4 separate regions of the Homo sapiens genome follow, and all the other regions are linked to region 1. The links are contacts of gene promoters, found by promoter capture Hi-C in blood cells and fetal thymus (Javierre and others, 2016). All regions are on one chromosome and are shown on one strand. The core of a region is centred on a gene start or on the middle of the fragment in contact, and the rest is flanking DNA. Distances in the headings are between cores, read along the strand shown.

Evidence for each region. The method cuts DNA at HindIII sites, captures the fragments that hold promoters and counts their contacts. A CHiCAGO score of 5 or more calls a contact.
Region 2: a fragment that was not itself captured here is called in contact with the fragment with the promoter of SMTNL1 in region 1 in 3 of 17 cell types (activated CD4 T cells, naive CD8 T cells and neutrophils); the score reaches 7.4 in activated CD4 T cells.
Region 3: a contact is called between a fragment that was not itself captured here and the fragment with the promoter of SMTNL1 in region 1, in 3 of 17 cell types (M0 macrophages, activated CD4 T cells and naive CD4 T cells). The highest score is 8.8, in M0 macrophages.
Region 4: a fragment that was not itself captured here is called in contact with the fragment with the promoter of SMTNL1 in region 1 in 2 of 17 cell types (neutrophils and M0 macrophages); the score reaches 6.7 in neutrophils.

The regions. Positions count from the first base shown.
Region 1 is chr11:57,534,723-57,542,722 of GRCh38, forward strand. It overlaps SMTNL1 (smoothelin like 1), which reads left to right and starts at 2,873. Exons shown (of 8, transcript NM_001105565.3): 1 at 2,873-2,920; 2 at 7,919-8,000. The coding sequence starts at 7,921. The HindIII fragment of the contact is 14,036 bases long and covers 1,793-8,000 here.
Region 2 is chr11:57,778,365-57,786,364 of GRCh38, forward strand. The region is part of intron 1 of CTNND1 (catenin delta 1); the gene reads left to right. The region is part of intron 2 of TMX2-CTNND1 (TMX2-CTNND1 readthrough (NMD candidate)); the gene reads left to right. Among named protein-coding and RNA genes, the nearest start is that of CTNND1, 21 kb to the left of the region's middle. RefSeq lists a silencer at 195-397 and enhancers at 353-1,239, 1,240-2,125, 5,892-6,392. The HindIII fragment of the contact is 3,687 bases long and covers 2,944-6,630 here.
Region 3 is chr11:57,348,195-57,356,194 of GRCh38, forward strand. P2RX3 (purinergic receptor P2X 3) reads left to right here. Exons shown (of 12, transcript NM_002559.5): 5 at 1-69; 6 at 433-510; 7 at 1,563-1,704; 8 at 2,568-2,704. Among named protein-coding and RNA genes, the nearest start is that of P2RX3, 14 kb to the left of the region's middle. RefSeq lists an enhancer at 1,635-2,134. The HindIII fragment of the contact is 563 bases long and covers 3,473-4,035 here.
Region 4 is chr11:57,699,931-57,707,930 of GRCh38, forward strand. It overlaps ZDHHC5 (zDHHC palmitoyltransferase 5), which reads left to right. Exons shown (of 12, transcript NM_015457.3): 12 at 1-1,252. The coding sequence ends at 101. MED19 (mediator complex subunit 19) reads right to left here. Exons shown (of 5, transcript NM_001317078.4): 2 at 5,043-5,299; 3 at 4,789-4,885; 4 at 4,372-4,466; 5 at 3,780-4,176. The coding sequence ends at 4,108. Among named protein-coding and RNA genes, the nearest start is that of MED19, 8.3 kb to the right of the region's middle. RefSeq lists an enhancer at 4,205-5,404. The HindIII fragment of the contact is 1,747 bases long and covers 1,625-3,371 here.

The sequences.
Region 1 (8,000 bases), core at 1,623-4,122:
GAGTCTCGCTCTGTCACCAGACTGGAGGATAGTGGCACGATCTCCGCTCACTACAGCCTCTGCCTCCCAGGTTCAAGGGATTCTCCTGACTCAGCCTCCCAAGTAGCTGGGACTACAGGCGCATGCCACCACACCCAGCTAATTTTTGTGTTTTTAGTAGAGATGGGGTTTCACCATGTTGGCCAGGATGGTCTCAGTCTCCTGACCTCATGATCCACCTGCCTTGGCCTCCCAAAGTGCTTTATACACCGCGCCCGGCCAACAAATTTTTAAGTGCACAAAATAGTATTGTTAACTATATGTACCATATTGTACACAGATTTCTAGAACTTATTCATCTTGCATAACTGAAATTGTATACCCATTGAACAGCAACTCTCCATCTCCCCAGCTGCTCAGCCTCTGGAAAACCATTGCTCTTATTGATGATGATGCTATTGTTATTATGATTATTTACTATGAGACTGTGTCTTTCCTCTATGTGGAGACCTACAGGTAGGAATCTCCAATGGTCCCAGTTGAATTGCTTCTTGTAGAAGACAGTTTAGATAGCCTCAGACTTTGAAGATATCCTTAGACTCCAGATATGTCATCCAAAGCTACTGATCTCTGTCAACACCATGCTGAAACTCTGGCTCCTCATTCTACCCTGCATTCTACCCCTTCCCAACCTTGCAAAGGTGAGTTGTATATTTGTCATTCATCGTGGGTCAGTATTGTCCTCTTGGGTGGGACCCCAGCCCCAGAAGAAGAGATGCAGAGTTTTCATCTAGAATCACTTCAAGTGGGCCCTGACCACTCATGAGAGGTGCAGAGAATACAAAAACAGAGGTTTCCTGTAACCTCCCTTGTGATGAAATGGCTTACGTCATTCTATTCACTTGAAGAAAAAGCTGGCCCTGGCTTAATCACTGTCTGCACTATTACTGTTTCCCATCACTTCTTCTTACCTCCATGGCTGATACTGTGGTCCAAGCCACCACCATCCTGCACCAGGGTCACTGAGTTTGTCTCCTGACTGCTCTCCCCACTTCTATCCATGCTTCTTCACTTTATTCTCAAAACAGCATCCATCCAGAGTATATCTGCCCAAGATTGGCGAGTTTTTCCACATCTCTCTCTGGCTTGCTGGTTTTTTGTTTAAATTCATTTCTCTTATCCTACTGTCATTAGATATTGAAAAGAGCAAAATACTCTGGGCATGGTGGCTCATGCCTATAATCCCAGCCGGGTTTCAAGTATTACTAGAGCCGGCTGGCAACCATTAATATTGGACTATTTCATGACTAGTACCCAAACCTAGATGCACAGAAAGATCTCTCTTTCAGATCATCCCGGGCAAGACCTCCAAGTTCCTGTCATATTTCTGTTAATTAATTAGTTATTTCATTCAGTATGTATTTATCAAGTACCTAATATGAGCCAGGCAATTCTGCTGGGATCTAGGCATACAGCCATGAGTATGGTAGATAAAATCCCTGCCCTCATGGAGCTTAAAGCCTAGTGAGAGAGTCAGATAATAAGGAAATGAATAAGGTAATTTTAGATTTAGTATTATGAGGACAATAAAAACTGCTGAAATGAGGGAGAGGAATTGAAGGTCATGGAAAACCTCTCTGAGGGAATGAAATTTCAGCTAAGTCCAGAAGAATGAGAGGGAGGCAGTCTTACAAAGAGTAGAAGGAAAAACCAGTCCTGAGTCTGAAAAGGGATGGATTTATTTAAGGAATAGGAAGGAGGCCAGTGTGGCCCAGTGGTGGGGCTTGGGGTAGGAGGACTGGGGGGGATCCCAAGCTTCGTGGGAGTGTCCTCTGCACCCATTCTCCAAAAGTAGTGCCTTTCTTAGATTGTAAAACACACAGAGAAAGTGAAGACTTTTTTTTGAGATGGAGTCTCTGTCACCCAAGCTGGAGTGCAGTGACTTGCTGCAACCTCTGCCTCCCAGGTTCAAGCAGTTCTCGTGCCTCAGCCTCCCAAGTAGCTGAGATTACAGGCATGCGCCACCAAGCCCGGCCAATTTTTGTATTTGTAGTAGAGACAGGGTTTCACCCTGTTGACCATGCTGTTCTTGAACTCCTGGCTTCAAGCAATCCACCCGCCTCGGCTGCCCAAAGTGCTGGGATTACAGGCATGAGCCACCATGCCCAGGCTTGTTTTGTTTTTTTCTTAGCAAAATGTCAGTTCAGTATAAAAATGTGTTCAGAGCCTACTGTGTACCTGTCACTTCAGCTCAAAATAGAACTCAGGAGTTTTGTATTTTCCAGGCTCCGTCCAGTGATCCGTCAGCTTGTCCCATCACTTTTGCCCTCTCTGCCCCTCCCCCTCCAAATCTCTCAGTCAACTGTGAGCCCCAAGACACATCCCCTGTGTTGGCAGCTGCCCTACTCGCCCCCTCCTTAGCCCAGCCTTAAGCAGCTGCTTTTGTCTGAGGACGAGGGAAAGGGGCTATGTAAGGAACGTGGCGGGGTGGGTGTGAAGGGAGCACAAGAGGCCTCGCCTGGGCTCTGGATGAGCAGTGGAGGCCAGGGCCATGCTCTAAATGAGTCCTGAAGATGGTTGTCAAGGTCCCTAGGGTTAGGAGAGTCCACTGGGGAGAAAGATGACCACAGGACGGATGCTGCCAGGCTCAGGGCGGAAGGGACGTGCCGTGATTGAAAGGTGCCACCTGTCAGATCTTCCACGGGAAATCCGAGCCTCCCAGTCTAGGGTAAAGTGTTGTACCAACAGGCCAGTAAACAATGCTCTTCAGGCAGCCCAAGACTCTTGAAGTGGGGGTGGGGTGGAAGAGGGAGAGGAAGGGGGGAGGCGGGACCAAAGAGCTGGGGGCTAGAGGCCACTGGGGCTTAAAGGCAGCCTGGGAGTGAGGCCACTCAGCTGGAGCAAAGAGACAGCTCCCAAGCCACAGGCAGAAGCCCCACAGGTAGGAGAAGCCCTGGCACCCTTTCTAAGGGTCCCTCCCCATCTGCCAATTCTCACTCCCACTGTCCAAGGGCCAGAGCCTCCCAGGAGGGCCCCCCATTTGGAGAAATCCAGGCTCCTTTCTAATTCTCTCCACCACAATGTCTACTCTCTTTAGATGCCTGGGGTCTCAGCCCTGCACCAGAGCACCTACAGAGCAGACTGCAAGTGGCCATCCACGAGGAGGCCACAGAGCAGGGGAGGGGACCTTGGGAGTCTCAAGAGTCAAACTGGGTTGGGGGGTAGACTGTCTAAGCCAAGCCTGTCCAGCCCACAGGCTACCTGTGGCCCAGGATGGCTTTGAATGTAGCCCAACATGAATTCATAAACTTTCTTAAAACATTATGAGATTTTTTTTTTTTTTGCAATTTTTGTTTTAGCTCATCCACTATCGTTAGTGTTAACGTATTTTACATGTGGCCCAAGACACTTCTACTTCTACCAGTGTGGCTCAAGGAAGCCAAAAGATTGGATACCCCTAGTCTAAGCAATTGAGGTCGGCCTCTCCAAGGGAGGGCCCCTGGCTGAGTGGGGAAGGTGGAAGCCTTAGGACAACCAGATGACAGATGAGGCTGCAGTGGGTGGCAGACGCACCACAGAACATCCAGTGTTTATACTACTGGGAGTTTGGATCTTGGGCTCCTGGGTCCCTTTCCTCCTGGTCTGCCAGAAGAAACAGGAAGAGAGAGGGAGGGGAGATATCTGCAGTGCTGCTTTGGACACAAAACAGGGATGGTTTGGAGACTTCCTGGGGAAGGAAGGAGGAAGGAAAGGAGAGAATAAGAAAGGAAGGTGGGGGCAGAGAAACTTTCATGAAGGGCCTACTGTGCACCTAGAAGAAAGAGGGAGGAACTCCTCGGCTGAATCTGACTGCCCTTCCCAACTGGTGGGGTGCCCCCACTCTGGGCCAGGGCCTTTGTAGGGACACTGGGCTGCGGAGCTAGTGGGAGCATATATTTGATGTGAGCTCTGGAGTGGAAGTTGGGATACTTGGATTCTAGATAGAGAGCCAGGCCACTTGTCCTATAACTTTAGTCAAGGGACTTCAACTCCCTGAGCCTGAAATCCCCATTGGCTCCCTAATGGGGCCAATAACCTATTCTGAAGGGTCGGAGCAAGAAATGACCAAGAGAAAGCAGGGCCTCCGCAGCATAAGCTGTAAACTGCTGTAGGGCTGTGAATGCTGGGGGTGGGTGGTGGCGTCCTGGTTTCTCAGCATTCTGAGCATCTTCACTCCTTTTCTATTTGTGACAAGCCTGGAGGGTGGAAAGCTGAGGTGATAAACACGCAGGATAGCCGAGGTGTGTGTCCGTGTGCGTGCACCTACCCTTCCCCTCCACCACCCTAAGTATGCAGCGTGTAGGCAGAAGGAAAGATGGTTAGAGCGGCCAGTCTCAGTGGCTCATACCTATAAACTCAGCACTTTAGGAGGCCGAGGCAGGAGGTTCACTTGAGGCCAAGAGTTTGAGACCAGCCTGGGAAACATAGCGAGACCCCATCTCTATAAAAAAAATAAAAAACAAAAAATTAGCCAGGTGTGATGGTGCACATCTGTGGTCACAGCTCCTCAGGAGGCTGAGGTGGGAAGATCCGTTGAGTCCAGGAGGTAGAGGTCACAGTGAGCTATGATTGAGCCACTGCACTCCAGCCTGGGCAACAGAGTAAGACCCTGTCTCTTAAAAATAAAAGATGACTGGAGCACTCAGCTATGTCTTAGCCAAATAGTGTCATACTTTGAGGTATAAAAAGGGCTTGTTATCATCCTACTGGCATTCAGTTCTCTCTGCCTTGACTCACTGATAAATGCCCTCAAGGCTGGGTCAGGACCTTGCCCTGGCACAGGGCTGGGCACAGCCAACCCACATCATACGAGCTGATGGGTGCTGAGTACTCATTCATGCCAAGCATGCCTCTGAATCCTGTTTTGTTTTGTTTTTTTAAGAGCTGAGGTCTCACTTTGTTGCCCAGGCTGGAGTGTAGTGGCTATTCATAGGCATCATTATAGTGCACTGCTTGACCTCCTGGCCTCAGGTGATCCTCCTGCCTCAGCCTCTTGAGTGGCTGGGACCACAGGCATGTGCCGCCACGTCTGGCTCCAGATATTTTCTAAGCATGGGCTTTCTTAATCCTCCACCATCCCTATGGGATGGGACCTATTGTTGTCTGCAGAAATCAAAACACAGAGAGGATGGATAGCTTGCTCAAGGTTAACACAATTAGTAACCCATGGGAGCTGAGATCCCATCACAGGAAGACACCAGAATCAATGATTTTCACTGCTAGTCCATGTCACCTTCCAAACAAGAGCAGAGAGAAAGAGGGGAAGGGATTGTGTTAGACCAGCATTTGCCATGCTTTCTTCTGCTGCTAGAGAGAGTGGTAGATGCTCCTCAGGGAAAATCAAAGCAAAAAGAAAAGAAAACAAAGGGAGGAAAAAAAAAAGTCATGGTCAAATAGGTTTGGAAAAAAGTGAGTTAAATGAAGTTTAAGCAAGGTTTAGGTTTCTTGACTATCTGGTTTCTAAAATCTATTTAAATGCTAATGAAGTTATATATCTGTTTTTGTTTTGTTTTGTTTTGTTTAATTTTATTTTCCTTACTATAGAGACAGAATTTAATATGTTGCCTAGGCTGGTCTTGAACTCTTGGGCCGAAGTAATCCTCCCACCTAGGCTTCCCAAAATGCTAAGATTATAGGCATGAGCCACTGCGCCTGGCTGAAACTGTATATCTCTAAGAGGGTAAAGAGTAGGCTTTTTTGTGGAGCAACCTTAGCCAGAGAATATCCTTTCTCCCAACCCCACAGAAAACCCTATCCATGTCACGGGAGACCCTAGTTTTCCACAGAACACAATGTGGAGAACCTGATCCAGATGAACCCCATCATTGTCAGTTGAAACTGAGGCCCAGAGAGGGAAAACTACTTGCTCAGGTCTCAGTGGGGACTGGAAGATGCAGGTCACAGCCAGCTCCACAACTTCACACCTCCCGGCATCTCTGCTGATGTGCGTCCATCCCCCTGGCTCATCTTCCCTCTTTTTTTTTTTTTGAGACGGAGTCTCGCTTTGTTGCCCAGGCTGGAGTGCAGTGACGCGATCTCGGCTCACTGCAACCTCCACCTCCCGGGTTCAAGCAATTCTCCTGCCTCAGCCTCCCAAGTAGCTGGGATTACAGGCGTCTGCCACCACACCCAGCTAATTTTTGTATTTGTAGTAGAGATGGGGTTTCACCATATTGGCCAGGCTGGTCTTGAACTCCTGACCTTGTGATCTGCCCGCTACGGGCTCCCAAAGTGCTGGGATTACAGGTGTGATCCACCATGCCCGGCGTCATCTTCCCTCTTACTTTAAGACATTGCTGGAGCCGCTGAACCAGGAAGGGGCTCTAGCAGGAATCAGAGGACAGTGTGAGCATCTTTACAAATCCCAGCCTACTTTTAGGAAATAGTGAGGGCATCGAATTCAGGAACCCCAGGACTCTGGGTAAGACCCCAGTGGGTGGTGGGAAAAAAGCCCTATCCCTGTCTTCTTGCCTCCTGTCCTCTGCCCAATTACCCAGGTGCCCTCGGTACTATCACTGAGAAAGATGGTACTGCCAAGGGCAGGGGGTATTTTTAGTGTGTGACAGGAGTGTCCACTTTTCTTACTGCCTGAGTCATGCCCTGAGCCCTATTTGGGGATTGTTTTCTTTGTAACTACACCCCCCAAAAAGGGCAGGAGCATGAAGGAGCTAACCCGGGGCCCCCACACACCTGTTTTTGTAGATCCTCCAGTATATACAGTACTTAAATAGGAAACTCCGAGTTAAGATGTCATAATCTACCCCCATGCTCCCGGGGGCAGTTGGAGAGTCAGATTGCTCAGCAGAGGCCAGGGAGAGTACGGCTCCATTCTTCACTCAAGGAAACGCTTCCTTGCCCAGGCCCACCTTTTCCAAAAACCACAGGCTGGTAGAGCTGGCAAAGCTCCAGAGACCAGTTGGCCCTGGGGTTCCCAAATTTCAGCCATTTTTATACACCACCTCTATAATTTTGCTACATCTGCACTGCCTATATTCCAGTTTCCTGAATTACTTCCTTTGAATCAACTTATTTTTAAGTTCAGTAAATGTATTTTTAAAAGACACTGTATCACTGTTGGAAATGGAAACTCAGTATCACTTACCAGAGATAGAAAGTAACTGTAAAAATAAATACAATGGAAACAAAATGGTGTTATTCAATTCTATCTAGATACTTCTGCTTGCCTAGGCTCTCAGGGGAGAGTAGCAATTGTTCCATAGGTGTTCTAGGATGCCAGTATAAAACTGTGACCAGGCACTGCTCATGCCTGCAATCCCAGAACCTTGGGAGGCCGAGGCAGGTGGATTGCTTGAGCTCAGGAGTTTGAGACCAGCCTGGGCAACATGGCAAAACCCCATCTCTACAAAAAAAAAACACACACACACACACACACACACACACACAAAAATTAGCCAGGTGTGGTGGTAAGCACCTGTAGTCCCAGCTACTCAGGAGGCTGAGGTTGGAGGATCACCTGACCCCAGGAGGCAGAGGTTGCAGTGACCTGAGATTGTGCTCCTGCACTCCAGCCTGGATGACAGAGCGAGACCTTGTCTCAAAAAATAAATAATACAATAAAATTGTGACCACCTCAGTGGCTTAATCAAAAAGAGGCAACATGACTGAAAAGGCATTATGTGATTCAATGTTCTTTAAAGCCAAAGCCAGAACCTACCGAGGGGCATCAGGTGAACACCATCCAACGTCATGTCAATGTAGCCCAACCATCCCAGCTTTGGGGAAGCACTTCTCTCTCCTTCGTGATTGGGCCCCATGTCCAAGTAGGAGCCAAGACTGAACCACGGACTTCCTGACTCCCAGGCCAGAGCTCTCTGAGGGTGGGGTCTTCACCTCATGCTGGGCTGGGGCATGACCAGGTCTGCTTGTCTTCTCTTTCCAGAGATGGAGCAGAAGGAAGGGAAGCTCTCTGAGGATGGGACCACCGTCTCCCCAGCTGCGGACAACCCTGAGATGTCAGGAGG
Region 2 (8,000 bases), core at 3,537-6,036, 250 kb after region 1:
TGGTAATCAAATTGCCATAATGGGATGTGTCACATGTAGCTGAGCTGAATTAACAGCATCAGTAGCTTTAAAATCCCTAATGCAGTGCCTCCAAAGTGAAGAAACTTGCCAAGTAGGAATCTTAAAAATTCCCTCACCCCCTTCAAACTTTTAGATCCACACACAGTCTTTCTGCTGATTCTTAAAGGCCTGAGCTTTGTCCTACGTAGTGTTGGCTTGGGGCAGAGAGGAGGGTTGTTTTCCCTGAACATGATAAGGAGCTGAGCAGGGCAAAGTGGGGGCTCTGGCCCGTGATTGGTAGACAGGATGCCCTGGAATGCAGTTGGCCTGCAGCCCAGAATCCAGCACTTTGTATTTGTTTGTTTCTGGGAGACTGTGGTCTGGTGCTACTGTGACAGGAAGTGAGAAAGCTGGGAGTGGGGGAACAGAGAGGGTCGATGTCTTTGTGGTTCTCCTGTGAAATCTCTTTGTCCCTGGAGAGCAGCTCTGCTACAGAGCTCTGCTGAGAAGAGAGCAGCCTTTGTGTGTCTAATGGGTCTCGGAGCATCTAGCTACTCCGAGGGATTAGAGAGTGTGAATTCTGACTGTGGCCTTTTGCGTTTTAGCACTTAAGTTATATAAATGGTCCTGATCTCTTAGCACTGGGAAGCTTACTGAGTTTTGTGTGTGCTGCTATTCTTTGTGGATCTCTAGGATTTAATTAAGAAAGGAATTCTAGAAGGAAATAAATGTTAAGTAATGTTCATTTGCTGTATATGTTGCAGGTACCTTGTTGGGTTTAAAAGGGACAGAAGGAAACAGGTAATGCTGAGGTCCTTTACATTTTATATCTCATCCTTCCAATTGGCACCCTACTGCATACAGATCAGGAGAAACCTACCCGCTTAGTATTAAGAGTTACTAGCAATTCTCTAATGTTTGATCATAACTAGAGAATGGTTGGTAGTTTCCTGGGATTTTTCTTCCCTATGTCTAGACTGAAATAGCACCTGTAATACCCTCTCTCTTTTCTGCCCTCTTTTCTCTCTTGTTTTGTGTTTTCCCTGCCTTCCATTCCAGCTGTGAAACAGGCATCTTTTCTCACTTTGTGGATTGGATGGCTGAGTCCTTAACTTTGAGCCAAGCTGGCTGGTTCCTGAGCACACACACAAACCCGCCTTTGATTGTCCAGGAGGACAGCTGCCCTAGAGGCAGATTGCTAACATACCACTAGAACAATCCTTCTTCTCTGTTCTTATGCTGGCTAGCACAATCTTTACTGCCTCTAGTTCCTTCTGTTTCCCACCCCATCTCTGATCTTTGCTTTTGGCTTAGTGAGATGTCACATTAAAAATGAGAGTAGGGATTGGATTTTTTTTCTTGTGGTAGGGTTGAGGGGGTGATCAGAGAATGTGACATGTAGCCAGCTTTCTAGAGCAGGCTTGCCAGTGGTAAGGTAGGTAATTTTTACAGAGTAGTGCCTCTTTTGTTCTTAGCACCTTTCCTCCTGAGTACTAGGTTCTTATAAAAGGGAAGGTAAATCTGAAGTAGGCTGCAAGCTACTCTTCCCAAATTGAGTAAGGTTTTGTTCTTTAAAGTGAAGATAAGACCCAAAAGTCTAGCTGGCTCCATTCCACCTTCTCTTGCCTCCTTCCCCTCTCCGTAAAAAAAATGTCAACTTTGGGTTAACTTCTTAATTGGAACTAGAATGACTTTTTTTTTTTTTTTGAGACAGGGTCTTACTCTGTCACTGAGGCTGGAGTACAGTGGCACAATCTTGGCTGACTGCAGCCTGGAACCACCAGGCTCAAGTGATCCTCCCACCTCAGCCTCCCGAGTAGCTGGAACTACAGGCACATGCCACCACCCCCAGCTAATTTTTTGTATTTTTTGTAGAGATGGTGTCTTGCCATTTTGCCCAGGCTGGTCTCAAACTCCTGAGCTCAAGCAGTCTGCCTGCCTCAGCCTCCCAAAGTGCTGGGATTACAGGCTTGAACCACCTCTCCTGGCCCGAAGAATGACTTTTAACCCCAGGAAACATAGAAAATTCATACTCTTTCCACTTTATCAAGAAGGAGCATGGACTTGGAATAAAATAGGAGTTTTCACTACTTACTACTAGTTGATGAGCTTGGGCAAGATACTAAATACTTCTGGTATATAGGTAGTATACTTATTTATAAAAAGAGGCCATTACCTCAGCAGGTGTTGAAAGGATTATATGATAACTTCAAGGGGAAGAGCAATAATGCACAACTTTCTTCCCCTTCAAGATGGGATTTTCTTCTTTCAGATAAGGAGAAACATTTCCTCCTGCTATCTGTCCTAAAGCCAAGAAAGGACCTTAACACTTCTGATTGATTTATTTATAGATTGACATGCTCTGTCTCCCTGTTGCTTATCTCAAAAGGAAGACATACTCCAAACTTGATGAAAAGAATGCCTTATTGGTCTTTTCAGGGTTTTGAGGAATTGGGACTGTGTAAATCTGGCTCAATTACATGCTTCCACCTTTTCCAAGTTATTTTCAAATGATGGGCAAAGAGGTGGGGGAATGCCATAGATTGAAAGTTTGGTGAGAAGCTGCTATTTTCTTTCTTTCTTTCTTTTTCAAGATGGAGTTTCACTCTTATTGCCCAGGCTGGAGTGCAATGGCGCAATCTCTGCTCACTGCAACCTCCACCTCCTGGGTTCAAGCGATTCTCCTGCCTCAGCCTCCCGGGTAGCTAGGATTACAGGCATCTGCCACCACGCCAGGCTAATTTTTGTATTTTCAGCAGAGACAGCGTTTCACCATGTTGACCAGGCTAGTCTCAAACTCCTGACCTGGTGATCCACCCGCCTCAGCCTCCCAAAGTGCTGGGATTACAGGCGTGAGCAACCGCACCTGGCCGAGAAGCTGCTATTTTAAAAAAGGAATGTGAGCTCAAACAGTTGGGTGACCCCTAGTAAACTCTAAGGTTAAGCTTTTCCATGAATATTTTTTTTTTCCGAGTCTAGGGTATGGAAGGATATAAGGTGTCTTAGTTAATTTTAGGATTTCTCTTTTATGACATGAGACCTAATCAATACCTTTGCATTTCAATGAGGCTTTTTCTTATTTTTCATAGTGTACCTGATCTCTCTCCTCTTGTAGGAAGGAGAAAGGCATTTGGCCTCTCCCCTTCCTTTAGTCTAACACCTTCCTCTGTTTTTTTGCCCCTCCCTCTTATCTTTGTTTCCTTATCGGCCTCTCCCTAAAGCCCTGCTTTCTCCTTTTAAGGCTAGGTGAGGTGTCTTTGGCAAGGTTGCACAGGGATCCAGGTAAGTAACTCAGTCTCTTCTCAGGATTAGAGAAAACTCAGTGTGAACTGTCCCAGTGGAGGGCCTTGGAGAGGCACATGGATAATGGGGGAGGAGAAGGAGGCGGCCTGGCCTGAGAGATCAGGACTTGTTAGACCAGTCCTGTGTGTGCGTCATGCATGCTCCACAGAGAAGCAGGTTTTTTTCTTTCTGTACCCTTTCAGTCCTGGGCCCCCTCACTAGCTGAGAGCCACACCCTTCCTTGGCTTCAAAGCCAGCCCAGCACTAAGCCATTTTAGTATGTTATGGTTTAGAGGGGGTTCTCAGAATACTTGGGAGGGGAAAAGAGAGAAAAAGAAGAATGTTTTATTTGGTCTCAGAATTTAGGAGGTCATGATGGTGGAGGTGATTTTTTTTTTTTTAAGTTGCAGTAAAAACTTTAAATATTGACAGGTAGCTTTGGGTAAGGATTATAAGACTAAAGGGAGTTTAAGGTACCCTGTTGATGTATAGAGGTTGCCAGCTCAAATTCCTTTTAACAAGGAGTATTATCTTGTTTATATCTTTGTTTTTTAAAAAATTCTTTTCTCTGACGTTCCAATCAGAGAGAATGTATCACTCTTTCCTAAGAGGAGGGTGGTCTGCCCAGAGCCTTCCTTAATTCATCAGAGAGATTCCTGGTGGACACCTAGTTTTTCCTCATGAAAATAAGACTTCTTTGGTCAGCCTTTTACCCTCTTTTAAAATAAAATCCTTAACTAAATTAAATTTAACAGTGTTTAATTGAACAAAGAACAGTTCACTAATTGGGGAGCCTTCTGAGCCACAGTAGGCTCAGAGACTCCAGTGCAGACGTGGTAGAAGATTTATGGACAGAAAAAGGAAAGTGATGAACAAAAAATGGAAGTGAGGTACAGAAACAGCTGGATTGGTTATGGCTCAGCTGGAACAGTTGGCCCCCTTTGAGTGGCCAAAACTCAGTGATTGGCACAAGAGTAGGTTACAGTCTATTTCTACCACCATTTAGGTTATAGTTCATTATGTACAGATAAATCTTTAGGCCAAACTTAAAAGATGTAAGGAGGCATAAACTTGCCTAGGCTAAACTTGATTTAACACTTCTAAATGGAGAAGTTGGGCCTAGCAGGAAGCAGATCCATGAGGAAGCATAGAAAGAGTGAACACTAGGAGAAGGCCATATCCAGAATAATACAGGTTTTGTGACTTGAGTAGTGCTCAGTTGAGATTGTGAAGTGAGCACAGTCCTTTTAATCTTAACGCAAATCAGCTTCAGGGACTTGGAATTAACAGAAGATGAGTCTTCCCAGTGAAGTGAGAAATACTAGAACTGTTCTGACTGAGCATGAAGGTGGAACATGGTTGGGCATGGTGGCTCACGCCTGTAATCCCAGCACTTTGGGAGGCCAAGGCTGGTGGGTCACTTGAGGTCGGGAGTTCAAGACCAGCCTGGCCAACGTGGTGAAACCGTGTCTCTACTAAAAATACAAAAATTAGCCAGGCATAGTGGCACATGCCTATAGTCCCAGCTACTTGGGAGGCTGAAGCAGGAGAATTGCTTGAACCTGGGAGGTGGAGGTTGCAGTGAGCCGAGATGACGGCATTGCATCTGGGCGACAGAGCAAGACTCCATCTCAAAAACAAACAAACAAACAAAAAAAAACGTGGAACATCAAGTGGAGGTAGGGCGGGGTACTTAGACTTTGGACTCTGGTATAAGCACTGATAAGAAGCCATAGAAAGGCCGGGCTCACGCCTGTAATCCCAGCACTTTGGAAGGCCGCGGCGGGTGGATCACGAGGTCAGGAGATCGAGACCATCCTGGCTAACACGGTGAAACCCCGTCTCTACTAAAAATACAAAAAATTAGCCGGGCGTGTTGGCGGGCGCCTGTGGTCCCAGCTACTGGGGAGGCTGAGGCAGGAGAATGCTGTGAACCCGGGAGGCGGAGCTTGCAGTGAGCCGAGATCGCGCCACTGCACTCCATCCTGGGTGACAGAGCGAGACTCCATCTCAAAATAAAAAAAAAGCCATAGAAAATCTTGACAAAATATATTTCTTTGATTTAGAAACAAAATGGCAAGTTTGTTTGTGGTTGAACCGGAATATTTCTTCAAATTTGGGGTCAGGTGCCAGTTAAGGCAAATAAATGCCTTTTAGGTATCTGAAGGGCCCCTTTCTGGCTTGAATGTTATGTAATACAGTTCTGTAGTGTTACAGGTGCTATATTTTGTTGATTAGTATTCTGCAGTAGGAGGCTTGGTATGCTATTTATTTATTTATTTACGTATTTATTTTTGAGACAGGGTCTTACTCTGTCGCCCAGGTGGCAATGTAGTGATTGTGGCTCACTGTGGTCTGGACCTCCTAGACTCAAGCAATTCTCCCACCTCAGCCTCCTGAGTAGCTGGGACTACAGTGTGCACCACCATGCCCAGTTAATTTTTGTAATTTTTTTGTAGAGGTGGGGTTTTGCCATGTTGCCCAGGCTGATCTTTAAACTCCTGGGCTCAAGTGATCTGCCCACCTTGGCCTCCCAAAGTGCTGGGATTACAGGTGTGAGCCACTTTGCCCAGCCCAGTGTGCTTTTGAAAAAAGCCCTTTGCATTCCCTAGAATGGCTGGGCACAGTGGCTCATGCCAGTAATCCCTGCACTTTGGGAGGCCAAGGCAAGAGGATTGCTTGAGCCCACGAGGTCCATGCTGTAGTGAGCTGTGATCACACCACTGCACTCTAGCCAGGGCGACAAGAGCTAGATCCTGTCTCAAAAAAAAAAAAAAAAAATTCCCTAGAACGACATGGAAATGGAGTTTTGCCTGTCATTGTTTTTAGATGGAGAGCATAAATTTGTGACACTCGTTTTGTTGTTGTTGTTTTTGAGACAGAGTCTTACTCTGTCATCCAGGCTGGAGTGCAGTGGCACAATCTCGGCACACTGAAACTTTTGTCTCTTGAGTTCAAGTGATTCTCCTGCCTCAGCCTCCTGAATAGCTGGGATTACAGGTGTGTGCCAACATGCCCGGCTAATTTTTTTGTATTTTAAGTAGAGATGGGGTTTCACCATGTTGACCAGGCTGGTTTCGAACTCCTGAACTCAAGTGATCCTCCCATCTCAGCCTCCTAAAGTGCTGTGATTACAGGCATGAGCCGTGGTGCCCGGCCATGACATTGGTTTTGATTTTATAATGAATAAATAGGAAGAAAGGAGGAGAGCTGCCTTTGAGACTGGCTCTGAAGACAAAATTATTTTTGCAAAAACCCAAAGATTGGTGAACTTCAGAGTTCACATAGGCTATGGTTTTATATATATTAGCTCATTAAAACTAAACCATGAAGAGTAATAGAAATGGAAGCTTACAGGGGTTATAACTTTTCCAAGGTCTCCTAGCTAGTTTTTGGAGGAGCCAAGACTTGGACCCCCAGTCTTTTGACCCCTAATCTGGAGTTTTATTTTGTTTTTCCCTCTAAAAGTGAATAATTCCTGTAGTTTTCAGGTCTGCTGCAAATGAAAGAGGGGAGCCTGGGGAGGCTGGTTTACAAACTTCAAAAACTCCACCAACCACACCCAAGCTCTAGTCCCTGTAGTAGTAACAATATTACTGGCTTTCTGTGCGTCAAGACATTTTTCTAAGCACTTTACATGAAATGCCTCATTTAATCTTCACAACCACCCTGTGTATTTTTATTCCTCCATTTTACAAAAAAGGAAGCTGCAGTTTCGAGTGGTTGATACTTTGCCCAAAGTCATATAGCTAATAAGGATAGATCTTATACTTAAACCCAGGCAGATAACAAAGCCTATACACTTAACCTCTTAAGAATCATAATTCCAAATTGTATTTCTTTAGTCAGTTTACAGTAGAAGAAATCATTCCAGGGACTGTGCTATTGGTAGGTGATTTTTTTGTGTGTGTGTGTGTGTGGGGTACTGAGTCTAGCTCTGTCACCCATGCTGGAGTGCAGCGGCATGATCTCGGCTCACTGCAACCTCCGCCTCCCGGGTTCAAGTGATTCTCCTGCCTCAGCCTCCTGAGTAGCTGGGATTACAGGTGTGCACCACCAAGCCTGGCTAATTTTTTATTTTTAGTAGAGACGGGGTTTCACCATGTTGGTCAGGCCGGTCTCAAACCCCTGACCTTGTGATCCGCTCACCTCGGCCTCCCAAAGTGCTGGGATTACAGGCTTGAGCCACCACGCCCGGCCGGTAAGTGATTTTTTTGTTTTTTGGACCTCCTATCTGGTTAGCACTGTCTAGTTGTTTGGTCCTTCTGGGTATTTGATTTAATTTAACTTCTTTTGGTTGGGAGTTCTTACAGACGAGACTGAGTTTTTATCATTATCATTGCTTGGATGAAGGATCTTTACTATGGACTATGGACTCTGGGTAATAGCAGGAATATCTTTCTAGTGTGGGTGGGATCCAGTAATGTAGGACTTAATGGCTTATTGAGAGTAAAACTAGGTATTCTCAGAAAATCTAGTCTTAAGGGGGAATAACAAGTTTCACTTTATGTTTCCTCAACCCCCTGACTTCAGGAATTCTTTGATTTTTTTTTTTTTTTTTTGGTGAGAGGAAATGTAGTCTATTTAAAAATCTAAGTAAGTGGAGGCCGGCTGCCGTGGCTCACGCCTGTAATCCCAGCACTATGGGAGGCTGAGGCAGGCGGATCATGAGGTCAGGAGATCGAGACCATCCTGGCTGACACGGTGAAACCCCGTCT
Region 3 (8,000 bases), core at 2,504-5,003, 190 kb before region 1:
CTACAGCTCTGTGCTCCGGACCTGTGAGATCCAGGGCTGGTGCCCCACGGAGGTGGACACAGTGGAAACGTAAGGCTCCAAGCCAGACAGGAGGAGACAGGCCCCCACCTCAGCTCCCCTTTGCCCATGTGGGAGCCGTGCGTCTCTGAGCTTGAGGAGGGTCTGTGGCTTTCTCCAGTGTTGTCCCTTCCTGGTGTGGGGGGTGGCCTCAGGCCCAGGGTATCATCTTCCCCAGCCCACCCACCTGCCTCCTCCTCCTGCTGTGACACTCAGGCACAGACAGCCCCTTCCTATAGCCCACTCTCAAAGTGCCCTTTATCTATAAGAGGTCTCCCTTTGGAGGCATCCACCAGGAAAGGTCGCCCTCAGGTGAAAGCCTTCATTTCCCCCTCTTCTTCCTGGAAAGCTAAGGCCTCCTGTGCTCACCCACAGGCCCATCATGATGGAAGCTGAGAACTTCACTATTTTCATCAAGAACAGCATCCGTTTCCCCCTCTTCAACTTTGAGAAGTGAGTCCCCACTCCTTCCCTAAAGCCAAGATGCAGGCACCCCCGGCCCTGCCAACCTGTTTTCAGGGAAGTGGAGATGCCCCCTCGCCACAGTTCTTCCCACTTTCGCTCCACTGACCCATCTCCCTGGGCCTACCATTCCCAATCTCCCAGCGGGCCTTGGCCACTGAGGATCAGGTGAACTTTGGGGTCAGTTTCTCTGCCAGCCTCCCCACCTTGGGGCTCAGACCCAAACGGGAGTTTTGCTTGGGGTAGGAGAGGGACAACTTAGGCCTAGTCGTGGGTCAAGGATGCCTTCAACGGTTGAAACCCTTTCGGTCTCGTCCCATTCTTTTTCCCCACATCTAGCCCATGTGTGGAAATCCCTTTTCTCTTAGTCAGTTCAGCCCCCCTTCATTGACTTACTCATTCCACAGCTACTCAGTGGGCATTGGCCATGTGCAGAGGGCAATGCCAGTCACTACAGAAGTGCACTAGGCCAGGCGCAGTGACAAATGCCTGTAATCCCTGCACTTTGGGAGGCCGAGAAGGGTGGATCACGAGGTCAGGAGTTTGCGACCAGCCTGGCCAACATGGTGAAACCCTGTCTGTACCAAAAAAAAAAAAAAAAAATTAGCCAGGCGCCGTGGCACACCCCTGTAATCCCAGCTACTTGGGAGACTGAGGCAGGAGAATCGCTTGAACCTGGGAGGCAGAGGTTGCAGTGAGCCGAGATCATGCCACCGCGCTCCAGCCTGGGCAACAGACCGAGACTCCGTCTCAAAAAAAAAAAAATGCACAGAGTAACCAAGAATGATTCCTGCCCTCTCGAACTCCCAGCCTGGCAGCTGGAGATTAGTCACCGACATACATCACCCTGATACACAGGGAAGGCGGTGATGGGGCACCAGAAAGATGCAGGGAAAGGAAAGAGGGGAGGGAGATGGCGAGGTCCAGATGAAGGCTGAGGGCTCAGATCCCCCCTAGGCCTGGGCTCCGGAAGGCGGGGAGAGATTGCACAAGACGATCTTCCCATGAACCCTGGGCTGACCTCTCTCTCTGCTCCTCCCCAGGGGAAACCTCCTTCCCAACCTGACAGCCAGGGACATGAAGACCTGCCGCTTCCACCCGGACAAGGACCCTTTCTGCCCCATCTTGCGGGTAGGGGACGTGGTCAAGTTTGCGGGGCAGGATTTTGCCAAACTGGCGCGCACGGTGAGGACCTAGCCATTCTTCCGCGACCCCAAACTCCCCACCTTCAGCCCTTTCCCAGATTTCAGGGCCCTTTGGCCGGCACTGGCCAGGAGCCGCCGCGAGACAGCGCCACCTGGTGGAAGCATCCCAGGCCGCCACTGGCTTTGTGCCTGAATCCTTTCTGCTTTCCCCGCGCAGAGCGATCTTGCCCCCCGCCTCCGCCGAGTCCACCTTCCTCAAGCCTCAGTTTCCCACTCCCATCTTCACACTTCACCTCAGGCAAAGGCCTTAGATCTGTAATAAGCCCCAAACGACGGGAAAGTAGACCTGTGGCCACTTTCTCCTGTGTTGTAGCTAAAGCACTGAAGATCCCAAAATTAGGACTCAGAGGCTCCAATGTTCGCATCCGAGCCACAACCTTTTTTTTTTTTTTTTTTTTTGAGACAGAGTCTCGATCTGTCTCCCAGGCTAGAGTGCATGGCGCGATTTCGGCTCACTGCAACCTCCGCCTCCCAGGTTCACGCCATTCTCCTGCCTCAGCTTCCGGAGTAGCTGGGACCAAGCCCGGCTAATTTTTGGTATTTTTAGTAGAGTCAGGGGTTCGCCGTGTTAGCCAGGATGGTCTCGATCTCCTGACCTCGTGATCCGCCCGCCTCGGCCTCCCAAAGTGCTGGGATTACAGGCGTGAATCACCGCACCCGGCCACCACAGCACTTCTTTACTGAGCAGTATATGACATGTCACTTTCCGTTCTCCCTGCCTCCGTCTCCCACCTGGAGGATGGGAGGAAATCATTTGTCACCACCTCCACCCCACCCCCACCCTGGCCCAGAGCAGGGAGTCAGAGGGCGAGGGGAAAGCTCATACCCGGCCCGTTTCTTCAGGGGGGAGTTCTGGGCATTAAGATCGGCTGGGTGTGCGACTTGGACAAGGCCTGGGACCAGTGCATCCCCAAATACTCCTTCACCCGGCTCGACAGCGTTTCTGAGAAAAGCAGCGTGTCCCCAGGCTACAACTTCAGGTAATTCCCTGTCTCCTGGGACACCAGGAGAAGAAGGTGCGGGCTGTTAACGGCAATGTTTATTGGGGAGACAAGATCCCACATCCATCCACCCACCCCTGGCCCCAAGTCCCACCTCAGGTTTCATTTCAAATCAGGAAGGACTCTCTAACAGCCATTAGGATCTAGCTGGTTGTCCTGGGAGACAGTGTCTCCTTATCACTGAAGGGGACCACGCCAAGGATTCCTGCTGCAGGTCAGTAGTTAGAAGAGAGGGCCAAGGTCTCTTGAAATGCTAGGGTTCTGCGATTCTTTGCCTGTTCCTAACACTGGCCTGAAACTGTGACGTGCTTAAGTGACTTCCAGATAGGCCCATTCCCTGCCCTGGGCCTGAATTTTCTAAGGTTTCTCGCTCTACAAAGTAAGGGTGATAACTGGTATCATTTTACATTTTACAAGATGGCAACTTTGCATTTCTCTCCGCAAACGTGTGTCACCAGTAGCAATTATAATTGTCTCTGGTTCTTCAATGCCTCTCCAAACAAGAACTCAGACCAGTCTTTAAATATCATCCCAATGGCTTTGAGACTTCAGGGATCTTTTCGGGTTTTGTTTTGTTTTGTTTTTCCATTTTGAAGAAAGGGAGAGAGGAATTAGAGGACAAACTGTTTGGAAGCAACTGAAAGCGCTTGAACAAGCCATTTGTCTTCTCCCATCCTAATTTCCCCACCTATGAAATTGTGATAGTACCACTGTGATCTTCAGGATTCAATTAACCAATGTGTGAAAAGCTTCAGCTTTCTGTTTTGTTTCTCTCTTCTTTTTTTTCTGAATCATTCATTTATTGATTCATCCATTAAACACATACCAATTGTCTACTACGTGCTGAGGACCGTACTCAGTTATCTTAGGTTAGCAGTTCTCAAAGTGTAGACTACAAGGTCAACACTACTTATTAAAGGTTTTGTTTTCTTTTTAATTGATAAATAACAATTGCATATATATGGGATACAATGTGATGTTTTGATACATGTATACATTGTGGATTTCCCCCAGTTTTTGAAGATCCTGAAGTTTCTGGCAGGGCCCTGTTTAAGTACACAGCATTATACACTAAACAGCTTAAATAGAACAAATAGGGAGTGACCAGGGGAAAAAAATACATAAGAATATATTTCATTTACATTTGAACATAAGAATGTATATTTGAATATATTCAAATAAATGTTACTCAAATTTCCTTTGTTGAGGTGGTATTCTCTGATACAATGGCATACGTAAGCCAAAAATAATCATTTCACCTTTTAAAATTGTTAATTTATAACTTAAAAAAATAATCACCCACCCCATTAAGCTTTATATTTAATAGTTTAAAATATACATGTATATTCTCTGGAAAGAAGAATCTTTAAAAATTGAAGTACTTTCATCATCAACTCCAAACTTTAAAAAAACCATAGGAAACAACACATATTTTAAAGTAGGTTAAAAATACTGTGCGGCTCACTGGCAGAAATTGGCATATTTATTCAGTTGGTATATCACACTGAGATCAATACAAAGGATATTTGTATGGTGGCTTAAAATAGTAACATATTAATAAAATTCTCATGATCTAAAATGCAAGTTTTCATCTTCATAACTTCCCTTTGGCCATTGGGAATTCTTTAATCCTCCAAATAACTCATTTGGCAGAAAAGCTTATGAAGAATGTGAATATTATAAAGACCCCCAACTACTGATATCGTACAGTTTTAGAACAGCATCTCTCATCTAAATAAGAATTGGTCTGGAGTTCTTTATCTCCAATTTATTGCACTGTGGCTGCCTTCCCTCCCTCCCCACCTGAGCACAGAAGGATGCGGGATAGACCTGGTCCTAAATAAGCTTGGAGGGTATTTGGGGAGGCAGGACGGAATATCCCCAAAGACCCTGCCTGCATAATTCCCAGAGGCCTAAGAGAAACCACCCCCTCTTAGGATCTCAGATAATTGACTCCCCCAACAAAGTCCCCCAGGCCAGAGAAGAAGGAGGCAAAGCTGCTTAGTTTGACCCTTGTGATTTAAAAGTTTCCAGAGGGCCCAAGTAATAGCCCTGACATTGGGGGACATCTGATATCAGTGGCAAGCAGAGGGCTCTGCCCAAGCCCCTTCCCATCCCTTCACCTGGGTGCCCACCCACCACCCTCATGCAACCTCAAACTACTGGCACCCAAGGCTAAGCTAAGAGCCCACGTGTGGGAGGCTGCAAAGCTGTCTTTCTGAATGCTTGAATAAGAGAGAAAGGGTCACAAAGCCAGGTTCAGTGCGGGTCACAGTGCACTTTCTATGATATGGTAAGATGTACGCTGTTTTTTAGAATCTCACCAAGCTACTTATCAGTAGAAACCATACTAGTCACCCTGTGTGCAAAACGTTTTGTGTGCTTCAGCTCAGCATTCCTTGCATGCCCTACGAAGTAGATGCTACAATATCCCCCCCAACTTTATAAAGGAGAAGATGGAGTCTCACTGTTAAATAACATTCTCAAAGTCACAAAGCAAGCAAGAGGGGGAGCCTGGATTCAAAACATATTTCTTTGGATGATCTCCACCCCAGCCAGGAAGACTAGGGACATTTGTACTTGTTAATCCTCAGAAAAAAAAGCATGCCTATGTGGTTGACACTTTCATCCCAGCTTAAAAACAAAGAATCTAAGTTCCAAGGAGATTTCAAGACTAGCAGATGCTGGCAGCACAATTCATAGCCCGGCCTTTTGTCTCCCAAACAATTCATTTGCTGCTCCCTCCAACAGAGGCAGATTTTTCAACACCCCTACTGTTGCCATTTGCTCTGGAGGGAATGGAATTATTCAGCCAAGATTCGGCCGTGTTTGAATCTGCTAACTAAGACATCCAGAGGCAGCTAGAGATTCACATTTCCATCACTAATTACATTCGCAGCTCCCTTCCAAATGTCACTCCCCCCCCCCCGCCCCTATTTTTTGTAGCTCTTTGCCTGCAGAATCAGAGATTTTGAGAATTTATAGCTGTTGAAGTTCCCCTTGCAGTCACCCAGAGTAAGGCGGTCACTTTACAGATGAGGAAGCGGAAGTTCCAAAGGGGGCATCTTAGAGTAGCCTCAAAGGTCATTGGATCTCAACTCCTAATGTGACCCTTGTGATTTAAAGGAGTTTACGGACCCATGTAAGAGATTACAGGCCCATGTAATCACCCTGACACTGGGGGATATCTGATCTCCGTGGCAAGCAAAGTGGCCTGCTCCATTCATTGGAAAGGTGACCTCAAATTGAGCCAAAATGTGCCTCCCTTTAAATCCTCTCCAGTGTACTTGGTGCTGTCCATGCAAGTTAATCTTTATTTTTGTGATCCCCTAAAGATTCTGTTCTTCCCCTACCTGAAATTTAGTGGAGACATTTTATTTTTACTCCTTGGTCTGTTCTGCGTGGCTAAAGACTCCGTGGGCCGCTTTAACTTAGTATTTTTATGAAGCCTCTTTCTAAGCACACTGAGATTGCAGTTGGTGGGGTCATCTGGATTTCTAGCAGACAAAATGCAGCAATTTCTAAAAATAAGAACTGTTGAGAGTCACCAGTTCAGTGCTGCACAAGTGAAAGGCGCCCTCAGCAGAGCCCTGCAGTTCTTCAGGAGGCTCTCTTCTCTGTTGGCAAGGTTTCTGAGGCCCAGGTAGACCCTCAATTCACAGGAGCAGGATTTTAACAAGAGTACTATATTTCCCAAAGTCCTGGGAACAGGTGATGTTGTGTGTGTGTGTGAGTGTGTGTGCACATGCGAGTTCGTGAGAGTGGGTGTATTTGTTAGTGGGTGAATGTGTGAGGCTGAGAGTGAGTGTGTCAGTGTGTGTGTGTGTGCGTGAGTGTATAGGCATTGATGGTGCAATGACAGATTAAAAATACTGTATCCGTCAGGGTCCCCGCAGGAAACAGATGGCACATTCTAACTGGGTAATCTGAGGAGAGTTTAATAAAGGGACTGTTTCAAAGGTGTGGGCAGGGTGTACGGAAACCACACAGATAGTGCAGTGCCAGGGCCAGAAACAGGACACTGGTTACCACCCAGGTCTGAAGAGGCGAGGAGAGGAAGCAGTGACAGGAACATGGAGACGGACAGAGCTGTGAGCAGAGGACAGCCTGACATGTGGCTGTGACTCAGGAGAGCCCCACCAGAAGCCAGAGCTGAGGCAAAGTGGCCCACTGAGGCAGCCCAGGGCAGGGCGAGGAAGGGAGGAGCACGGACCTGAGGGGCACCTGCAGAGATGTCCAGGACAAGTCCTGACAACTTTCATCTGTGAAATTACAGCCCTTCCTTAACTTTCAGAGGTCTCTAACTGCTTTATGCCCCCGATGAAAATGGGGACCATTGTCCAAGGAAGATGCATGTATTCATAGACATGAGAAAATTCACAGGCAAGTTCTCTTCTTAAAGGATATTTTATTTCTTTTTTTTTTTTTTTTTTTTTGAGACAGAGTTTTGCTCTGTTGCCCAGGCTGGAATGCAGTAGTGCAGTAGTCTCGGCTCACTGCAACCTCTACCTCCCGGGTTGATGCAATTCCCCTGCCTCAGCCTCCCCAGTAGCTGGGATTACAGGTGCCCGCCACCACGCCCAGCTAATTTTTGTATTTTTAGTAGAGACGGGATTTCAACATGTTGGCCAGGCTGGTCTCGAACTCCTAACTTCAAGTAATCCACCCACCTTGGTCTCCCAAAGTGCTGGGATTATACGCGTGAGCTACCACGCCTAGCCAGGTTATTTCATTTCTACAAATAAGATACAAATACATTCTCAGAGTAATAAATCCAACCAATACTGATATATACAAAGTAATGACATGGGAAGTCCCCTTCATTCCCCCAGGCCTGCACCCTTTGCAGGGAATTAACATCTGGGACGGTTTAATGAGTTTCTTTCCAGTTCTTATTCTATGCATTTATATTTATGCAGCATAAAATTCCAAGACTTTGAGGCCCTCTAAAAGCCTATCCCGTAGCCAGGTGTGGAAGCTCCTGCCTGTAATCCCAGCACTTTGGGAGGCTGAGGCGGGAGGATCCCTTGAAGCCAGGAGTTTGAGACCAGCCTGGGCAGCAATAGCAAGACTCCTTCTCTACAAAAATAAGATTAAAAATTCTAAAAAATAAATAATAAATGAAAGCCTATCCCTGCACCTCAGATTAAGAGCCCTAGAGTTAAGTTTGCAAAGCCCTTTCACACCTATTTTTGACAGATCACAGCTCACCATCTTCCCCCACCCCCAAGGTAGGCTCAGAAAGATTTCAAAACTTGCCTGAGATTATACAGCC
Region 4 (8,000 bases), core at 1,248-3,747, 160 kb after region 1:
CCTCCCCTGGCCCAGGCCAGCCACCTCTCAGTAGCCCCACGAGGGGAGGAGTCAAGAAGGTGTCAGGGGTTGGTGGTACCACCTATGAGATTTCGGTGTGAGCCTTCGGCACCTCCCCTCCCCAACGCCTCTGCGCCTACACCAAAGGGCCCCAGGTGGCCACCTTCCTTCCCTCAAGGGGCTCCCCTCCCGTGCATGGACATTTTTTAAACCACCGATTCCAAGAGGATGAGGAGTGTTTTCTAAAATGCAGTAGGCTTGGGGAGTCGGAGAGTTGGGGCCCTGAGACTGGGGTAGCAACCCCCCCTTTTATCTTTTAAGACCTTCCCTTCCTTGATCCCTGGACCAGACTCAGTGGACATTTGTGCAATTGCTCGCCCTGGAGGGAACCAGATCATTTTTAAACCAGAAATAATTTTTTTTATTATTGTTACGGATTCTATTTTTTTCCTCTTCTGCGTTACCAGGTGTGTGTGTACATATAATATATATATATATATATTATAAATATCAAAGAAATTATATATCTATCCTGGGATGGGAAAATGAGGGAGGGATACATATACGGAGGGGGATCTTACTCTTCCCATTCCTCAGACCAGCAGGAAAAGAGGGGAGACGTCAGTCTTTTTCCTGTGGTTCCCTCTCATTTGTCCCAGTTACTAACTACGGAAATAGCATCCTCTGCTGGTGCTAAGTGTGATTAGGAAGAAGCCTGGGGAGAGGTGAGTCTGGAATTTTGGTCACAAGAGGGAAGGACTTGGAGAGGAGAATTAGTTTTCTAGGCTCATTGGCATTTAGTTTCCCTAGGAAAGGGGTCAAAACTTCAAGACACTGGTGGTGGTGGGAGATCAGGAAAATAACTTGGCCTAGCTCAAACAATATTGGATAATCCCCTCCTTGGGGGAGAGGGATTAGAGTGTGCTCCTACTGGCCCCTTGGAGCCTCCCCTAGCTTACACAGTTAACTTGATTTTAAAATCCAAGGCCAGGAGAGAAGAATCCAAAAAGCAATATTTTTCATCACATGCCAAAAACGGGGGATAGAGAGAAGGAGTGGCAGGCCTAGGCCCCTCCGATTGTCCCTTGGGGGTTACCCCTCAGCCCACCTCACTATGGTGCTGGGTAGAGGGGATACCTGGGTTCTAACCTCTAAATAGGGGAGATCCCAGCCTCCACAAAGAGGCCCTTTTATTTTTTATTCTGATTAGCCATTTTAAACCAACGAGGAATAAAAAGAAATCCTGATCTAACCAGCGCCCCCTGACTTGTGTTATTTTGTCTGGTTGAGACAGGGTGAACGATCTCTGGTGGGAAGTTATCAGTGACAACCTCATAAACTTCTCTGGTCCCAGCCCATCTTTAGGCAAGACTATAATGAAATTAGCCACTTAACAACTAAAAAAATAAAAAAGAGACCCAGTGCGGTGGCTTATACCTGTAATCCCAGCACTGAGGGAGGCTGAGGCAAGAGGATCACTTGAGCCCAGGAGTTCCAGACCAACCTGGGCAACATAGAGACTCCATTTCTAAAAACAACAGGTCCTGTTTTTATTTGGGTGATTTAATTCAAAAATTCCTGAAAAAAGGTCTCTTGAAATCACCAAAACTGCTTGTTATTTGAAAGCTTAGAGAACTCTTAAAAGTTGTTTCTTTCAAGAGACAGGGCCTCATTCTGGTTGCCCAGGCTGGAGGGCAGTGGCACAATCAGATCACTATATCCTCAAATTCCTGGGCTCAAGGGATCTTCCCACCTCAGCCTTCTGTGAAGCTAGGACTTACAGTTGCATGCCACCATGCTTAGCTAATTTTTTTTTTTTTGGTAGAGATAGACTCTCAACCAATTTTGCCCAGACTGATCTCGAACTTCTGGCCTTGAGCAATCCTGCCTTGGCCTCCCAAAGCATTGGGATTACAGGCATGAGCCACCATGCCCAGCTACAGTTGTTTTTTAATACAGGATTTAGTCTCTGGAAAGTAAAGCTAATTTTGGAAACAGCCAAAGGTGACATAGTAACAGGTATGAAAGCCTGTTGAAGGCAGGTTAACTAGATATCGGTGTCAGTTCAATTAGATATATTGCATTTTATTGGACAAAAGCTGTGCTCTAATTTTAAATAGGTATCCTTAGACACTAAATCTCAAGCAGTTGACCAGAGCCCTTTAATTACTCAAAATTTAAGAATATAAGCTCTTAGCCGGGCGTGGTGGCTCACGCCTGTAGTCCCAGCACTTTGGGAGGCCGAAGCGGGCTGATCACAATGTCAGGAGATCGAGACCATCCTGGCTAACACAGTGAAACCCCATCTCTACTAAAAATAACAAAAAACTAGCCTGGCGTGGTGCGGGCGCCTGTAGTCCCAGCTACTTGGGAGGCTGAGGCAGGAGAACGGCGTGAACCTGGGAGGCGGAGCTTGCAGTGAGCCGAGATCACGCCACTGCACTCCAGCCTGGGTGACAGAGCAAGACTCCGTCTCAGGAAAAAAAAAAAAAAAAAAAAAAAAAAAAATATATATATATATATATACTCTTATTTGGGTGCAGTAGCTCACACCTGTAATCCCAGCACCTTGGGAGGCTAAGGCAGGTGGATCACCTGAGGTCAGGAGTTCAAGACCAGCTTGGCCAAAATGGTGAAACCCCGTCTGTACTAAAAATGCAAAAATTAGCTGGGCGTTGGTTATGGGTGCCTGTAATCCTGGCTATTTGGGAAGCTGAGGTGGGAGAATCACCTGAACCCAGGAGGTGCAGGTTGCAGTGAGCTGAGATTGCACTACTACACTCCAACATGGGCGACAGAGCAAGACTCTTTCTCCAAAATTTAAAAAAAAAAAAAAAAAAAAAATATATATATATATATACAAAAATTAGCCAGGTGTGGTGACGCACACTTGTAGTCCCAGCTACTTGGGAGGCTGAGGTACAAGAATCACTTGAACCCAGGAGGCAGAGGTTGCCGTGAGCCGAGATCATGCCACTGCACTCCTGGGCAACAGAGCAAGACTCTGTCTCAAAAAAAAAAAAAAAAAAAAAAAAACCCAGCAAACTCTTATTCTGAAATCCTGGATTTAAACCAGCTGAATGAGTGGTTTTCCACCCACTGATTCAGGAACAACCTTGGCTTTCACGGCAACAGATTTTAACTGTGTTAAATTTAAAGTCAGATTACATTAATTCAGGTTTTCTCATGGATGTTTTCAGTTACCTAACCAGCTGGAAAAACTAAAAGTGTTTTTTGTTTTTGTTTTTCACATTTTGATGGTTTAGGCTACATTTTGTTGCTGTTTTAGAAATGTTTTCACATCAGCTAAATAACTTTATTGTCTTAACTAAGGACCGAAGCAGGTCAAAAGTTCTTGTAAAGAGAAGGGAAGCTTTACCTTTGCTTGCCAGAAGTTCATCTCAAAAGATCACAGGCTTCTGACCTAAAGAACCAATCTTGTTGAAACACATGGGTGACTGTCCATGTGTTTTCAGTTGGCTATTCTCTTTCGACACAAAATTGACCTAGAATACACTGTTGAGCCCTACCTGGATCAGCTCTTCAGATGGAGCCTGAGATCACCGAGGCGCTTGGTTCTCAACATAATGGGCAGAGTGTTACGTGTCTGCTGTGGAGTATTAGTAAGCTTGGGTCACTTTTCATTTTGGTTGGTTCCCTGCCTGCTAGTGAGATCATGTAATGACAAGACCCAAATCCCCTCAAGTCTTAGGAATGCCTTGTCTTAAATCCTGATTCACAGAAAGGCACATACCTCTTAACAGGCAGTCACACTTCAGCCAGTTTGATAAATGTAATTTTTTTTTTTTTAAAGAAAACACAGAACAAGTCCTAAATCAGACAAATTGCACAAAAGAGAGAGAAGAAAATTGTAAGCTTCCTGGGAGAGGAAGAGATGTCCATGAGAAAACCAACTGGGATGAGCCTACAAAAGCATGTCCCTCTCTCTCCTAATTTACTTAGTCTCAACTGAGCCCAACAGGAGCTGGCCTCTGTCCCAGCTGCAGGATGCTCCCAAGGCAGTGTCCAAGAGCCTGGAAGGCAGCTTTTATCAGCAGGTTCAGTACAGCAGGAAAAGCCATCCTGGCAAAGAGTCCAGTGGTCCTATTAGCGTAGGCTGCTGCTGCTGCTGGCCTGGGAGCTGCCCATACCTGGGTGGTCTGGACTATGTCGATTCTGGGGGAGAAAGAAGCAGGGTAAGAACAACTAGGAACTAGCCTTGGCTTTGATCAGGCTGTACAGGAGAAACCTGCAACCTGCCTTGGGTTTTCAATCTTGGGTCCAACTTGAGGCAAAGAACTCTAGGGTATTTAGGACAGGGGTGAGATCTGGGGAAACTCACTGGGTTGTGGCAATAGGCCTCTACTCTACCTTCTTTTTCTTCTTCTCTTTCTTCTTCCTTTTCCGTTCAGGATCCTCTTCTTTTTTCTTTTTCTTCTTCTTGTGATCTGAATCAGATGGTGTTTCTGTAGGAGACATTAGGTACCTATCACCTGTAAAGCTCAAAATCCTCTACTGTTATGAACCACTGAAGACTACAGGAAAATCCCAAGTCGGGGCAACTGCTTTTGTCCAAATGGCCAGAAAGGATACAGAGGTGCTGCTAGAGTCCCTGTCCCAAGTCCCAAGAGACCACAGTACATTGGTTTCTTCTTCAGGGGAATTTAGGAGTCCAGAGCTCCATACGGAACTTAACTGGGTTTACCTATGGAAGTTCAAACCAGATTCAGAAGGTCAGGTTTTTTTTTTTTTTTTTTTTTTTTTGCTTTGAATAGAACTGCTTCTTACCTGGGGGGACAGGATCCTGGGTACGGCTCTGTTTGTGCTTGTGCTTATTCTTCTTCTTGGGAGGCTGAATATGCATCAGACGACACTGCTCCGGCAACTGAAGGAACCAAAGGAAGGTCCAGGTGAGTAGAGGGAGGAAATCTCTCCTGCTCTTATCATCCATTCTGCTCCATTATGAAGGAACAGACTTGGAGAGAAAAACCATCTCCATGTTTAGGCCTCCCCATTTGCCTTCTTCCTCCAACAGGACTCACCGGGCCAGTGTGGAGGCGGAAGCCGGCCAGCATGGTCCCTGTGATAGGATTGAAAGAGCTACTGAGAATAGGGGGCTTCTCAATGAGAGAGCGGAGGCTGCTGTTATCATGGGAACCAGGCAGATCAATCATCCCTGGCAGGTCAGGCAGGAAGTTACTTAGCTTCTCCTTCACCTTCTTCCCACAGAATTTATTATAGGCTTGTTCCAAGTTGTAGTGTGTGATCAGATTCGTGCTGCCTGTCAGCTCTGTGCTACCTAGACAACGCAGAATAAAAATAAAAAAGATCAGTCTTCAAAGTAGACCCAGGGAGTGAAGGACTATATATTAACCTAAATAAGACATTTTTTAAGTGCAGATTTTAAAATTTAAAATTTATTTTTAAAGAAACAGAGCAGGCCGGATGCAGTGGCTCATGCCTGTAATCCCAGAACTTTGGGAGGCTGAGGCGGGTGGATCACCAGGTCAGGAGATCGAGACCATCCTGGCTAACAACACGGTGAAACTCCGTCTCTAGTAAAAATACAAAAAATTAGCCAGGCGTGGTAGCACGTGCCTGTAGTCCCAACTACTCAGGAGGCTGGGGCAGGACAATCACTTGAACCCGGGAGGTGGAGGTTGCAGTGAGCTGAGATTGCGCCACTGCACTCCAGCCTGGACAACAGCGAGACTCTGTCTCAAAAAAAAAAAAAAAAACAGCAAAAGTAAATAACATGAAAAGTATAATACAACACAATGGTAGGTTCCAATGGGAAGGGGAAAAACAGGCAAAAATCCAATAGGGCAGAGACAGGAACTGCTCTAGCCCAATGAAGGAGACACTCCACTCTCTTAAGATTAACTGGAGTTGATTTATATGATGCTTGCTTCGTGGTAAATGCTGTTCTGAGTGTTTCTCATAAAATGTATTAGTGAAAAATTATATTCTCTGACACAGCTAGGAAAATACGACCTTGCAGCTCAGCTACAACCATGCTCAGGGGGCCAAATATGACCCAGTGACTTAAGGGTCTTGTCAAGGACTTTTTTTTTTTTTTACTAGCAAGAAACACTAATCACCTTTACATAAGAAAAGAACTGGGAGATTTTTTTCTAGCTACCACTGCCTAACTTGTTACCAACATCTTTATTCTTCCTCGTGATACTGAGTATGATGCCTTGCCTAAAAGGAATAAATGTTTTTTGTTTTTGAGACGGGAGTTTTGCTCTGTCGCCTAGGCTGGAGTGCAGTGGGGTACGATCTTGGCTCACTGCAACCTCCGCCTCCTAGGTTCAAGTGATTCTCCCACCTCAGCCTCCCAAGTAGCTGGGATCACAGGCACACACCACCATGCCTGGCTAATTTTTTTCTAGTAGAGAAGGGGGTTCACCATGTTGAGTAGGCTGGTCTTGAACTTCTGACCTCAAGTGATCCGCCACCCCCCGCCGCCTCGGTTTTCCAAAGTGCCGGGATTACAGGTGTGAGCCACAGCACGCATCCAGGAAGAAATGTTTGATTAGAAGTCAGTCAACTAATGGCCAGGCGCGGTGGCTCACGCCTGTAATCCCAGCACTTCAGGAGGCCAAGGCGGGCAGCTCATTTGAGGTCAGGAGTTCAAGACCAGCCTGGCCAACATGGTGAAACCCTGTCTCTACTAAAAATACAAAAATTAGCTGGACAGTAGTGGCACACACCTGTAATCCCTGCGAGGCGGAGGTTGCAGTGAGCTGAGATCAGGCCACTGCACTCCAGTTTGGGTGAGAGAGTGAGACCCTGTCTCAAAAAAAACAAAACAAAACAAAACAACAAAAACAAAAAAACAAGTCAGGCAACTAGAATTATTCTGGCTGTCTTCCATGCCTCAGTTTCCTCTTATCTGTGGAATGGAATAATAGCTATCTTACATACACATAATTTTCTCCCAAGGTTCAAATGAAAATATGCTGAAAAGCATAAAGTATCAGGCTTGGCACAGTGGTTCATGCCTGTAATCCCAGCACTTTGGGAGGCCAAGGCAGGCAGATCACCTGAGGTCAGGAGTTTGAGACCAGCCTGGCCAATATGGTGAAACCCCATCTCTACTAAAAATACAAAAATTAGCTGGGTGTGGTGGCATGCGCCTGTAGTCACAGCTACTTGGGAGGCTGAGGCAGAAGAACTGCTTGAACCCGGGAGGTGGAAGTTGCAGTGAGCTGAGTTTGCACCACTGCACTCCAGCCTGGGTGGGAGAGTCAGATTCCATCTCAAAAAAAAAAAAAAAAAAGTATTATATGTATGCAAGGCACTATCCATATAAATATTGCATGGCTGATTCTTTTTTAAAAAATATACATTTATTAGTAACTTAATAAGGACCTACTAGCAAGGGTAGAAATAGCTAACTACAACTTCATTTGTAATTATGATAGACACAGAGGGTACAAATGACAAAAATGGCTTGTTTATAATCATTCACTTGGGAAAACTGAGGTACTGAACTGTAAGCTCCTTGGAGGCACAGACAATGTCTTGTTCATTCATGTATCGCTAGTGCCCAGCACAGTACACACATTAGGTGCTTAATAAATATTTATTAAATAAACAAGGCACTTTCCCTCTATACCTCTAGGCCTTATTCATCCTTTTCCTTCCCTTTACTACCAAACAACTCAGAAGACTGAGCGAGGGTAATGGCAGGAGACCCAATGTCACAGTATCTCTCCTCATAACTCTGGGCACTGCCTCTTGCCATTACAATCTTCTGAATTTCCCCTGCTCTGCCAACTCTCCTCTGTCCAGATGGTTATCCTTAAGGCTCAGGTGAGAAGGCAGTCTGTGCTTTTTCTAAACTGTAACTTGAGAGTTCAAATTCCAGTTTTGACTATTCTACAAAGATTACTTTTTATATTTATTTATTTTTTGAGACAGTCTCGCTCTGTCACCCAGGCTGGAGTGTAATGGCACAATCTTAGCTCACTGCAATCTCTGCATCCTGGGCT